Linked DNA regions of Homo sapiens: region 2 is linked to region 1. The links are contacts of gene promoters, found by promoter capture Hi-C in human tissues and cell types (Jung and others, 2019). All regions are on one chromosome and are shown on one strand. Each heading gives the region's core, a stretch centred on a gene start or on the middle of the fragment in contact. The rest is flanking DNA. Distances are from core to core; before and after follow the strand shown. Region 1 holds the start of ADCY1 (adenylate cyclase 1). Region 2 overlaps ADCY1 (adenylate cyclase 1).

The links. Contacts are between HindIII fragments. The study calls those that stand out against the background at their distance.
Region 2: a contact is called between a fragment that was not itself captured here and the fragment with the promoter of ADCY1 in region 1, in 2 of the 25 tissues and cell types used here (heart right ventricle and stomach).

The regions. Positions count from the first base shown.
Region 1 is chr7:45,568,811-45,575,944 of GRCh38, reverse strand. ADCY1 (adenylate cyclase 1) reads right to left here and starts at 1,577. Exons shown (of 20, transcript NM_021116.4): 1 at 763-1,577. The coding sequence starts at 1,401. RefSeq lists a silencer at 1,092-1,191 and an enhancer at 2,003-2,563. The HindIII fragment of the contact is 21,542 bases long and covers 1-7,134 here.
Region 2 is chr7:45,628,198-45,634,585 of GRCh38, reverse strand. The region is part of intron 4 of ADCY1 (adenylate cyclase 1); the gene reads right to left. Among named protein-coding and RNA genes, the nearest start is that of ADCY1, 57 kb to the right of the region's middle. The HindIII fragment of the contact is 3,478 bases long and covers 2,337-5,814 here.

The sequences.
Region 1 (7,134 bases), core at 328-2,827:
AGTTGGAAGAGCAGGCTCCTCCAGGGCCCAGGAAGAGTCCGCGGGAGGCAGACAGCGTCCCCGTCCTTGCAACCATCTCGCCCGCCCGACTGGGAAGACAGTGACAAAGTTCGGGCGCAGAAAAGGCAGGGTCAGGGCAACCGCCGAGTGGCAGCGGCAGGGACTAGACTGTGTTTGACCTTGGCAAACCCCACTCTTTCTGGGCCGGAGGCATGTCCACAGAAGGGTGGCCAGCAAGGCTGGAAGAGCCGAAGTCCTTTCCCACCACCCATATACCACCCTCGGGTCCGCAGGGTTGGGAGGCGAGCCCAGCACGCGCTCTAGGTGCGCAGGGGAAGAGCCCAGCGCTGCGCGCAGAGCCGGCCTTGGAGCTTGCCCTGGGGGTCTGCTCTCCTCGCCCACTTTCAGTCCCTCTGTGGGGATGGGTGCGGCAAAAGACCGGCGGACCCCTCTGGCCGCCGTCTGGCCGCTCATCAGCTCCCTGACCTTGGCCAAACCTTTCTCTCTCCACACCTGTCTCCCCTCTCCACACTTCACGCCAGGGGCGCTTCGTGGATTGTAACTCTGAAGAGAGCCCTGGCCGGAGGGTGCCAGCCCCGACTGCGTCCCCAACTCGTAGGAGTGACCTTGAACACACCCCCACTCGGAGCCTCAGTGTCCCCACCCGCCGCATAGGAAAAAGCGCGCCCGACTCCGGGCATTCCCAGCATCGTCCCAGCAAGTGTGTCCGAGACCAGATGAGGGGTGCGCGGCTGCACTTACCGTCCTCCAGAGACGTGGGCGCTTGGCGGGGACCAAGGTGGCTGTGACCAGCAAGTGCGACGCAGCCACCACGAGCCCAAAGCCTATGGCCAGCAGGCTGCGCACGGGCAGCAAGGCATAGGACACGAAGGTGACCAAAAGGAGCTGCCAAACCCCTTGTTCGGCGGTCGCTGGCCCCCCAGCGGCCCCGGCGGAACCCCGGGCGGGGCCGCCCAGCGCGAAAGGACAGCAGAGCAGCGCGAAGGTGAGGCTGAAGAGCAGCGCCAGCTGGCCGACCTGCTGCAGCTGGGGCACCTGCAGGGACCGGACGTTGGTTACCACGAGCAGCGCCAGGAAGAGGACGCAGTGCACCGGGTGTGAGCCCTTGGCCAGGCCGGGCGCGGGCCCCGGCGCGCCCAGCAGCTCGGCCAGCGCCAGCGCGCCCGCCAGCAGGCTGAGAACGGCCAGCGCCTTCAGCGTGGCCGCCTGCTCCAGCCGCAGCGTGTAGCCGCGGAACAGCGCCTCCAGCTCTGGGCAAGCGAACTCCTCGTCGCACGCCCGGAGCCCGCGCCGGCGGCTTGTCCCGGCCGCCCGCTCGGCGCCCCCGGGCTCGCCCGCGCCGCCTCCGCCGCCGCCTCCGCCGCGCGGCGCCCCCGCCATCTCAGCGCCATGCAGCGGCCGCGGCCGCGGGCGCGCCCCTCGCCGGCCCGGGGCGCCGGGGCGCGGGCGGCGGCGCCGGGGCGGGCGGGCGGCGGGCGGCGAGGCGCCGGGGCGCGGGGCGCGGGGCGGGCGGAGTTGGGGCGCCGGCTGCCCCGCGCGCGCGCCCGGAGCGCGTCCCCTCCCGCCCGCCGCGCCTGCGCACTGGAGCCCGCCCGCGCCCCGACCGTGGTCCTCGGCGGCGACCGCGCTGCGACAGCCGAGCCCCGGGAGCCGCGAACCTGGGCGCGCACAGCCCGCGCCCCAACTCCGCGTCCTGCGTTCCCGCCCGCCGGAGGAGCCGCGTGACCTCGAGTACCTTCCTTGTCCCCTCCGAGCCTCAGTTTCCCCACCGTGCACAGTGGAACCCACCCTCTTGGCGTCACCTGGGGAGTCGAAAATACTGAAATCCTGCGAAATTCCCTGTTGCGGGGCAGTTAATCTTGGAAAATATGTGCCTTCCCCCACTCAATAAAACCAGGCCACTAGATTTGAGAGGGGCCCGCGTCTGACTGCGAACCCAGGGCCCTCGCCCCTACGAGACGGAGAATCGACGTCCAAGAATCCCCGGGGTCAGGAGGAAGGTGGAGGCCTGGGGCGTACGTCCCTTCCATGCGCATGAGGGACCCCCCGCCCCTCGGCAATTCTTCCCTAAGCTCTAGGGTCGCGGAGACCCTGTGGGCGGGTGCGGGCTGCGGGAGCTGTGCTGGGGAGGCGGCGGTGGTGAAGTCCAAGAAACAAAGTCCTGGGAGTCGGCCCGAGGGATTCCTCCTGGGTACTGAACTGAACCAGGATGGGCTCCTGGCAGTGCTGTGTCCCGGGAAGAAGGTGTGAGGCTGTAGGTGCAGAAATGGGGCAAGAGATGAAAGGAAAAGGGGCGCTGCTGTTTGCCTTAACGATTAGCTGGATACCCGAGAGAGAGCGAAACGTTTTCTTCTAGCAGGACAATTGGGAGGGAAGGACGCTGGCCCATGGGGGTTAAAACCCGCGAGTCGAATTCCACTGCTTACATTCATTCACTATGAGGGAGACAACTTTGTGCTGGTGCTTCAAGTACATGATGTCATTTGGTGCTCAGACGGCCCCTGGGCTGCCTGCATCCCCCTTACAGTGAGGATCTCTCATGATCAGCTCCCTCCAGGAGGCCTAGAGAGGAGTAGCCACTGCAAGAACCCCTGCCTCCTCCGTTATCCCGGCTGCTTCTCGTCCCCTCAATATGGATAGACCAGGAACTGGGATCCCATGAAATAATGGAGACCAGGAGGCTAGGCCCCCTGCAGAAGGCCCCACTCCCAGAAACCAGGATTTAAGGGATCTCGCCCAGGCATTGGTCTATTTTAGAAATGCCCCAGGGATTCCATTAACTCTCAGGGATTCCACGTGTTGTTATACGGAACAAAGGTTAGAATTTGAGGCATTTCCATTTTATCTGGAATTGGTATCAGGTTGAACCATACAAAATTGCCGTTTTTGTAAAAGGGCCAAAGTTGTCACATGTCAGCTCTTTCATATGCTTCAACTTAATAGTTGCAGATGATGACACCTCTAGGCTTTGTCTAGAGTAGGGGCACTTTCCCATCCCATGTCCCCAGTAGCTCACACCAAAGGCCCCCAGCAGACACTTGATGACAGCTGGTCCCTCCTCCTGGAATAGCATCCCCAACAGAACATCCTTTCTGAAACCTTTCTGGCTCCTTCTGGCACAGCTCGTTGCTTTCTCCCCAGTCCCAGTCTTCCGTGAAAATTCATACCCACCACTCTGTAGCCTCATTTTCTGTTCATTTGCCTTCCTCCCCTCTTTGAGCTGAAGCCCTCAGAGGGCAGCACTGGCTCTGAAAAGATGGCATGGCCCAACCTCTGTCACTGACTTGAGAAAGCACCTTCTTCTATCCACTAGTCCCCTGCTTATCCCCAAATAGGAGCAAAGTCTGCAAGATTTTTCTTTTCAAGTGTTAAGATTGAAGTGAAGATTTTCTTGTTAACTGGTGTGGTATATTTTTGGATCCTAACAATTTATTAAAGAAAAGCTGAATAATATCCAAAAAGGATCAAACTACATGAAAATGAAAAAGTATGATAAAGTTAATCTGGGTGCAAAGTTTACAAATAAATGGCACCTTCTTTTACCTGTTTTGGCTCTCAACTTTGTCCTCACTCAAAAAATGACATTCAGACAGGTGCAGTGGCTCATGCCTGTAATCTCCGCACTTTGGGAGGCCAAGGCAGGGGGATCACTTGAGTCCAGGAACATGAGAGCAGCCTGAGCAACATAAGGAAGCCTCATCTCAACAAAAATTTAAAAATTAGCTGAAAGTGATGGTACATATCTTTAGTCCCAGCGGCAAATGAGTTTTAAGGGAGGCTAAAGTGGGAGGATTACTTGAGCCCAGGAGTTTGAGGCTGCAGTGAACCATGATCTTACACTCCAGCCTGGGTGACTTCTCTTTTAATAAGAGTCTGTCTCTTTAAGAAAAAAAAGAAAATCATTGGCAAGATTGGCAGCAACTGCTTTCAAACGAGGTTATAAGGATTCAGATTAGGCTTTGGACGGAAAGAGGTTCAGTCATAGGTGCAGTACCCTTTGCTTACTGTCACACATGCTTGTCCTAATATGAAGTCCTAATAAAGTATCCAGGGATACATGGTGTGGTGTGGTTTACATGTCATTCTCATGTCTGTAGTTCTCATTGATGCTCCATGGCATCTTGGAAGGCAGATTTTATCACCCTCATTTTGTTGATGAAGAAGCAGAGACCTAGACATGCTCTGGAGCTGGCCCCAAGGCACAGAGAGGACCAGATTCTGGTGGGAATCTGGGGGTCCTCCAACTCGTGTTGTTAAACCCTGGGAGGGGTAAGAATTGAAAATTGTTATTGTCAGTGGTGTGGACTTGAGCTGTGAATATGTTAATACTGTCTCCACATTTCCCAGGTTGGAAGAAGAAGGCCTTCAGATGGGCAGTTTGCACCAGGCATAACAGGGAAATTATCTGAGATACGACAAAGTGATTGCAAGATGTCCTCTTAGTGGGTGTCAAAAGTTGAATTGTGGTCCCCTCTGCCCACCATTTATATGCTGAAGTCCTAATCCCTGCCTCATAATGTGGCCTTATCTGGAAATAAGGTCATTGCCGATGTAATTAGTTAAGATGAGGCTATATTGGAGTAGTGTGGGCCTCTCCTCCAATATGACTGGTGTCTTATAAAAAATGTGGACACACAGACACACAGGGAGAACGCCAAGTGAAAATTGGATTGATGCTGCCACAAGCCAAGGAACTACCAGAAGCCAGGAGAGATGGTCCCCTGGAACCTTCAGAGCAACCAGCCCTGCCGACACTTTGATCTCGGACTTCCAGCCTCCAGAACTTCAAGACCATAAATGTCTGTTGTGTAAACCCACCCAGTCTGCAGTGGGTTTGTATGGTAGCCCAAGCCAAAAAATACACCTAACATATAGTCTACCCTGGCTAAGGTTTCGTGTTGCACTGGGTAAATAAAGAACAACAGCCAAGGGCGGGGGAGGGGGGTGCTGTGAGGCCCACAATGAGCGATTCTGCTCTTCGGGGGAGCACCTGCCTCCTTCATCAGAGGCCAGCAAATAGCAGGGCACCATCATCCGCGACATTGTCTCTGCACATCTGGGAGAATGGGCATGCAATTACTTCCATATAGCCACAGATACACTTCTTCTCAATAAAAACAAACTCGTTGGATAATTTGAGCCTGCTTGTTCACATGGTGGGGGCTCTAGTTCTTTCCCTCTCTCTCCCAATATGGGAGGCCGGTGCCTTATTCAAGACATGACTGCAATGCTTCTTTTTTTTTTACCTTTTTTTTTTTAGATTCAGGGGGGTGCACGTGCAGGTTTGTTACATGGGTATATTTCATGATGCTGAGGTTTGGGGTACAGATCCTATCTCCCAAGTAATAAGCATAGTGCCCAATAGGTAGTTTTCCAGTCTATGTCCCCCTCCCTCCCTGTCTAGCAGTCCTCAGTGTCTATGGTTCTCATCCTTTTGTCCATGTATATTCAATGTTTAGCTCCCACCTATAAGTAAGAACATGTGGTATTTGGTTTTCTGTGCAGTGCTTCTTGCTACAATAACACCACTGGGTGTGGCTTTTCACCATTTACAAATCTCTCTAGTCTACCTTTGCATTGGAGCCCCATAACTGTTGAAGGTCCTGGTCTTTGTAGAAACTAAATGAATTGCCCAGATCATGGGGGTGGTGCAGGGTGGGCCCATCCTGGAGCCTCAGCCCATCTGACCCAGTTCATAGCCACCACAGGGGAAACTACATGATATCATGGCTAAAAGAGTGTGGACCCCTGAGGTGGGTTGTTGGGCTAACATGTCAACACCACCCCTCCCAGCTGTGACTTTTAGCAAGTTACTCAACCTCTCTGTGCTTCTCCTCTTCTGTAGTTTGGGAACTTAGCACCTGGCCCCCAGGGTTATGGTCGGAAGAGAGGCCCGCATGCACACAGAGCCTACACTTTATACACACAAAGTATAAAGCAGAGCAACCAGCCCTGTCAACAATTTTTCCTCTAACAATTCAGTGTTCTGGGTAGACAGAAGTGGGTGAGTGCCATTCAAACTCTTAGAGCAAAATATATCCATTTAGGCATCTGGACAGCAGCCATGACAGCCAGGGAAGCCAGCTAACCAGCTTCTGTCCTGGGAGAGCTCATTGATTTCCACTGACTTTGGTCAGACGTTTGGCTTCCAGATGAGTGTGTATCGTACTCCACTCATGCTTTGTCTTTTGGGACAAATTTCCCTTGTGAATTTGTAAAAGAGAGAGCAGCCTCTATATAGTCGATTGACTCTGAGCCACTTGTGGAAATGAGGCTGTTTAGGAAAGAGGTTGCTGATTTGTGTCTATAGGATAGTCAGTAAAGTTAATTTTGTCACAGCAATTTCTAGGTAATCAAATGATTCACACAACAGGCTCAAAACAGTGAAACACTGGAAACCAGCTGACATCAGTGGGGCTCAGCCCAGACAGATCAGACCCTAAGATGCAGCCTCCTCCCCAACTCTCCCCTTCATAGGGGCAGCTCCCAACTCCTGACTTCATCTGATGCAAGACACAGTGTGGGACCCAGCCCCCCTGAGTATTTCCTCTTGGAGCATGTGGGGACAAATGAAGGGGTCTTTAATTCCCTTGCAGATGGCAACTAGAAACCATGGCATGTATATCTGTTTAGGACTCTTCCAGTCAAAAAGTGACAGAAAACCCCAACGCAAACTCAAACTACCTTAATCCAAAACTATGACTGTGTTGGCTGTCATAATAGAAGGGCCAGCAATGGCAGAATCACGTCTACACTCAGCAGGGAACAGCTGAGCTCAGTCAGACCCACCGCTCTGGGGTCTGGGGAGGGCCACTGGGTGGTGACTCCCGCTACTGGCCCATGTCACCCTGCCCGGCCTGGCCAGGCTACATGACCACGGTGGGGGTTGCTGGTCACCCATTTCCTCCAGTCCTAGAACGTGGGAGGGAGGGCACCACCCAGACAGCTGGAACCCAGTGGAAGGGTCCTAGAGCTAAAGGCAGGAGCTACAACTGGATAAAGGGGCTGGAGGGTGAGTCAGCAGCAGCCTGTGTGCACAAGGGCGGCAAGATCTGATCTCACCAATTTGGCCACTCCAAGCATCACTGTTCTGCACTGTGTGGCATTCCCTTG
Region 2 (6,388 bases), core at 2,826-5,325, 56 kb before region 1:
CTTGTCCAAGGAACAAAAGGATGTTTAAATATCCTACCATCAATCAAGGTAATTCATTATATGAGCAGACTAAAAAGAAAAACCATATGATCCTTCCAATAGATGCAAAAGAATTAGACAAAATTCAACATCCATTTCTGAATCAAAAAAAAAAAAAAAACTCAGCAAACTAGAAATAAAAGGAAACTTGCTCAACTTGATAAAAAGTATCCACAAAAAATCCAACTGGTAATATATTTAATGATGCAAGACAGAATGCCTTCCCCTACTGTTGGGAACAAGACAAGAATGCCTGCTCTTGACACTTCTATTCAACATTGTACTGGTGGTTCTAGCCAGTAAAAGAAGGCAAGAAAACACAAATAAAAGGCACCCAAGCGGGAAAGGCAGAAGAAAATCTGTCTTCATTTGCAAACAACATGATGATTTATGTAGAAAACGTATGTATACGGAAACCTACCAGAAATGAGTGAGCTCAGCGGAGTTTCAGTACAGTTTATCAATACAAAAACTCAATTGTACAGTTGGCCCTTGAACAAAACACAGGTTAGGAGTGACAACCCCCCACACAGTTGAAAATCCATGTATAACTTTTGACTACCCCCAAAAACATAGCTACCAATAGCCTACCATTGGGCAGAAACCTTACCAATAACATTAACAGTTGATTAACATATAAATAGGCTAGTATCTATTTAGGTTGATGCAAAAGTAATTGTGGTTTTTGCTATAAGTAATTTAAGTAATTACGGTTTTTGCTATTACTTTTTTTTTTTTTTTTTTTTGCGATGATGTCTCACTCTGTCACCAGGCTGGAGTGCAGTGGCACGATCTCGGCTCACTGCAACCTCTGCCTCCCGGGTTCAAGCGATTCTCCTGCCTCAGTCTCCCAAGTAGCTGGGACTACGGGCGCCCGCCACCACACCCAGCTAATTTTTGTACTTTTAGTAGAGACGGGGTTTCACCACGTTGGCCAGAATGGTCTCGATCTCTTGATCTCGTGATCCGCCCGCCTTGGCCTCCCAAAGTGCTGGGATTACAGGCATGAGCCACCGTGCCGGGCCTTGCTATTAAAGGCAAAAACCACAATTACTTTTGCACCAACCTAAATACATGTATAATCGTTTATGTATTCATGGCATACTCAAACTTTTCTTAATGTTTTCAATATTTCTAGGCTACGCAGTTCATCTGTGAGTTTTTCCAAACTATCACAAATCTCCAAAGTATTTTCCAATATATTTATTGAAAAAAATCCATGTATAAGTGGATCCACACAGTTCAAATCCGTGATGTTCAAGGGTCAACTGTATTTTGCTATACCAGTAATGAACAATCAGAAATTAAAAGTTAAAAATCAACAGCATTGGCCGGGTGCTGTGACTTACGCCTGTAATACCAGGACTTTGGAAGACCGAGGCAGGTGGATCACTTGAGGCCAGGAGTTCAAGACCAGCCTGGACAACATGGTGAAACCTCGTCTCTACCAAAAATACAAAAATTAGCCAGGCATGGTGGTGTGTGCCTGTAATCTCAGTTACTCCAGAGGCTGAGGTAGGAGAATCACTTGAACCTGGGAGGCAGAGATTGCAGTGAGCCAAGATCACACCACTGCACTCCAGTCTAAGCAACAGAGCAAGACTCCGTCTAAAAAAGAAACAGCTAGGAGCTACTTAGGAATAAATCTGATAAAATATATAAAACACATATACATTGGCCGAGCATGGTGGTTCATGCCTGTAATCCCTGCAACTTTGCGAGGCCAAGGCGAGAGTATCTCTTGAGCTCAGGAGTTTGAGACCAGCCTGGGCAACATGGTGAGACCCTGTCTCTACAAAAAAAAAAAATTTAAAAATTAGCTGGGCATGGTGGCATGTGCCTGTCGTCCCAGCTACTCAGGAGGCTGAAGCAGAAGGATTGCTTGAGCCCAGGAGGTGGAGGCTGCAATGACCTGTGATCACACCACTACACTCCAGCCTGAGTAACAGAAAGAGACTCTGTGTCAAAAAAGAAAAAAGAAATACATATACACTGAAAACTATACATTTCTGAGAAATGTATAGAATTTTTTCTATACATTTTTTCTGAGAAAAAATTAAAGAATATCTAAATAAATCTAAATAAACATACAGTGTTCGTGAATCAGAAGACTATTTTTTAAATGTTAATCCTCCGAAGATTGGTAACATAGATTCAACACAAATCCCAAACAAAATTCCACCAGCCTTTGTTACAGAAACTGACAAATTGATTCTAAAATTCACATGGAAAAGCAAAGCACCTAGAATAGCCAAAAATCACTTTGAAAAAGAACAATAAACTTGGATAAAGCACAGGACCTGATTCCAGACTATACATTATAAAACTACAGGGCCAGGGTGTGTGGTTTTTGATGTCAAGATAAACACATAGGTTAATGGAACAGAATTTTTTAAAATCCAGAAATACATTCAACTACATATGGACAAGTGATTTTTCTAACATTTTGGAAAGGGAATTCAGTAGAGAAATGATAGTCTTTTCAGTAAATGATTCTGGGACAATTAGATATCAAGATAACAACAAAAAAAAATCCAGCTTTGACCCATACCTCGAAACATACACAAAAATTAACTCCAAATGTATTATAAACTTAAATGTAAAACCTCAAACTATAAAACCCCTAGAAGAAAACACAGGAGAAAATCTGACTTTGGTTAGGCAAAGATTTTTACTTTATTTTTTGTAGGTATATATTTATTTACTTTGCAACCTTACTCTGAGATGCAGAGATATGCAGGCTTGGCTTAGATAGCTGGCAAATGAAACAAATGATTGTGATTATTTGTGTATCTTTCTCATGTGAGTTTTCCTTAGGACAATGTGTATTTGTAAAGCTACAGAATTCACATGCGCACAAAAATTATGAATACACTATGTTGTGTTTTCACCTTATTAAACATTAATCTGATAATTGCATCTAATGCTTTGACTTTTTGTGGATGATGTTTGTTTTCAAGTTTGGATGCAGAGCTTATAAAATTGAGAATAAGTGAAATAGTACTCAATTTACTTGTGATATAGTATGTGCTCTGTAAAACAAGTATTTAAGGAAAACTTTTGTTCCCCTGCTGGATTGTGAGGCAGACTAAGTCACAGATTGTATTCTCCTTACATATGCCCGTACCAGTGATTAGCAGTTTCCTGCACAGAGCAGAATGAGAGGACATTTGCAGAGTTAAAATGGAATCCGGTTGCATTATAATGCTAATAAGGACAACGTTATTTGACAATTCTCTAAAACAGACAAAGCTGATAAATGGACAATTTCTAGCATCAAATGTTATCTGGTTATCTAAGAACTTGATGGGATTTTTAAAATGAGTTTATCATATCTTTATGTTAGAGGGTCTCAATGATTTTCAAGTTGGATTTTCAAATACCTGCATAGTTTTAACAACACTGACCCCACTGATCACAGCTTTCCTGGTAACAATGATAATTACCATATATTGAGTGTAAACCTTGTCCTAGGCACTGTGCTAGATGCTTTAGACCTTTTATTATTTTACTTTCCATTATTTTACTTCTCACTAACCAACCAAAATAGTCATATTTAGTCTTATTTTTGAATAAGGAGACTGAAATCCAGAGAGATTTTGGATGGCTGCTCTCAGTGTGTGGTAGGCTGAAATTCCATGCCTCCCGAGACCCCCAGAGATACCCACAGTCAAATTTCTGGAATCTGTAAATGCAAACTTACATGGCAAAGCACAAAACAAAGCAAACAAAAACAAAGATCTTTCTAATGTAATAAATTAAGGATCTTAAAATAGGGAAACCATCTTGGATTATCCAGATAAGCCCTGAATACAATGACCTGTATCCTTATAAAAATGAGGCAGGAGGAAATTTTACACACATACAGAAAAAGGGAAAGAGAGAGGGAGGGAGGGGGAAAAGGCAGAGAGTGAGAGAAAACAGAAGAATGAAGAGGAACACACAGCAATATGAAGACAGAGGGAGACTGGCCCACAAGCCAAGGAATTCCAACAGCCAACAGAAGATGTAAGAGTTAAGGGACAAATTCTCCCTTGGAACCTTCTGGATGGAGTATCGTTCTGCAAATATCTGGATTTTGGCCAAGCAATACTGATTTCAGAATCCGGGCCTCCAAAACTGCTCTCAAAGAAGTTTCTGTTGTTTCAAGCCACCAAGTTTGTGGTACTTCACCACAGTAGCCTTGGGAAACCAACACACAGTTATAGCACTTTGGGCAAAGACTTTTTAAATACAACACAAAAGTTACAATGCATTAAAAAAACTGATAAACTGGACTTCATAAACACTAAAACTTTCTGCTCTTCAAACAACACTGTTAAGAGAATAAACAAACAAGCCAAAGTCTCAGGGATCATATATTTGATGGAGGACTTATATGTAGAACATACAAAGAATGCTCAAAACTTCACAAAAAGAAAAAAGTCAACCCAAATAAAAAGAAGTGGTCAAAAGGTTTCAACAGACACTTCACCAAAAAGATAAATGAGTGGCCAATAAGCAATGAAAAGATGCTCAACCACATTAGCTATTAAAAAATAGGAAATTAAAACCACAATAAAATAGCACCACATGCCTATTAGAAAAAAACTAAAATTAAAAAGACTGACCACATCAAGTGCTGATGAGGATGCGGAGCAACTGGAACTCACACACTGCTGATGGGAATGTGAAATGCTACAATAACTCTGAAAACATTGTGTCTGTTTCATAAAAAGTTAAGCATACGGCCGGGCGCGGTGGCTCACGCCTGTAATCCCAGCACTTTGGGAGGCCGAGGCGGGTGGATCATGAGGTCAGGAGATCAAGACCATCCTGGCTAACAAGGTGAAACCCCGTCTCTACTAAAAATACAAAAAAATTAGCCGGGCGCAGTGGCGGGCGCCTGTAGTCCCAGCTACTAGGGAGGCTAAGGCAGGAGAATGGCGTGAACCCGGGAAGCGGAGCTTGCAGTGAGCCGAGATTGCGCCACTGCAGTCCGCAGTCCGGCCTGGGCGACAGAGCGAGACTCCGTCTCAAAAAAAAAAAAAAAAAAAAGTTAAGCATACATCTGCCATGTTTTTTAGCCATTCTACTTCTAGGTATTTACCCAAGAGAACTGAATACCCATACATAGACTTGTACATGAATGTTCATAGCAGCTTTATTTGTAATAACCAACACCTAGAAATAACCAAATGTCCATCAAAAAGTGAATAAACAGACAAGCTTCAGTACAGCTACAAAATGGGATGATTCTAAGCAATGAAAAGGAATGAAGTACTGACACATGCAACAAGTTGGTTGAATCTCAAAACAATTACACTCAGTGAAAAAAAGCCAGACAATGTAGAGTACATATTGCTTTGTTCCATATATATAAGGTTCTAGAAAATTCCAACTTATTTGTAGTGATAGAAAGCAAATTAGTAGTTGCCTGGACACAGGGAGAGAGTAAAATGAGAAGTGGGAGGAGACAGGGATTGCGAAGGGTCTAGGAAACACTGGAAGATATGCTCAGCATCTTGACTGTGGTGATGGCTTCACACGTGTACATATGCCCAAATGAACAGAACCGTACACATATGCAGCTCATTATCAGTCAATCATACCTTCAAAGTAAGGAGCCCTCTGTGCCACCTAGGACAGTGGGAAGCTGAGGAAAGGTTTGAAACAGGAAGAAGAGCTCCTCATGCTCACCCCATGAGGAGCTGCTGCAGAAATCCCGGTGAGGTGTAACATATCCCAGAGGTACTGAACCACAGAACTCACACGCATTATCGGAAGGCAGGCACTAGTTAGGCCACACGTGGTGCAGTTTGTTGGAAGAAAGAAGCATGCCAGGTTGCAGAAGACAGAGTATTATGTAAACCTTTCCTAGGAAAATTGACAGATTCCCTTTGTATTCAAAAAGTCATCCACACATATTCGAGAACTCTTCTTAATAATTTTCCTAAAGACACCAAAACACAGCCCATGGGATGTCCTGCCTTGGGGAAGGGCAGGGGTGCCTCCTCATATACTCCCCATGTTCCCCTTCCTCCAGAAACCGCTCACCCTCCACCCCTGATAGAGTCTGGGCAGGTCACTCTGCAAGGATCCCAGGACAGGGAAACACTTTCCCTGCTGTGTGAAGAAAGATGTGTTTCCATTCTGTCCATTACAAACTGTGCAGGGGTCTGGAGGGGCTAGAGCATGGGCAGGAGCATGGAGATGGATGGCGGAAACCGAGGTCTTCAGGCAGGGAAAGCGAGAGGCTCACTTGGCTGGAAGGTTGGGGTGTGAGGAAAACCCATGGGGTCAGAGTGGAGAATGCCAAGAGACCCACCTCTGAGGCCTAGTGGCCTGTATACGAGCACAAGCTTTAGAG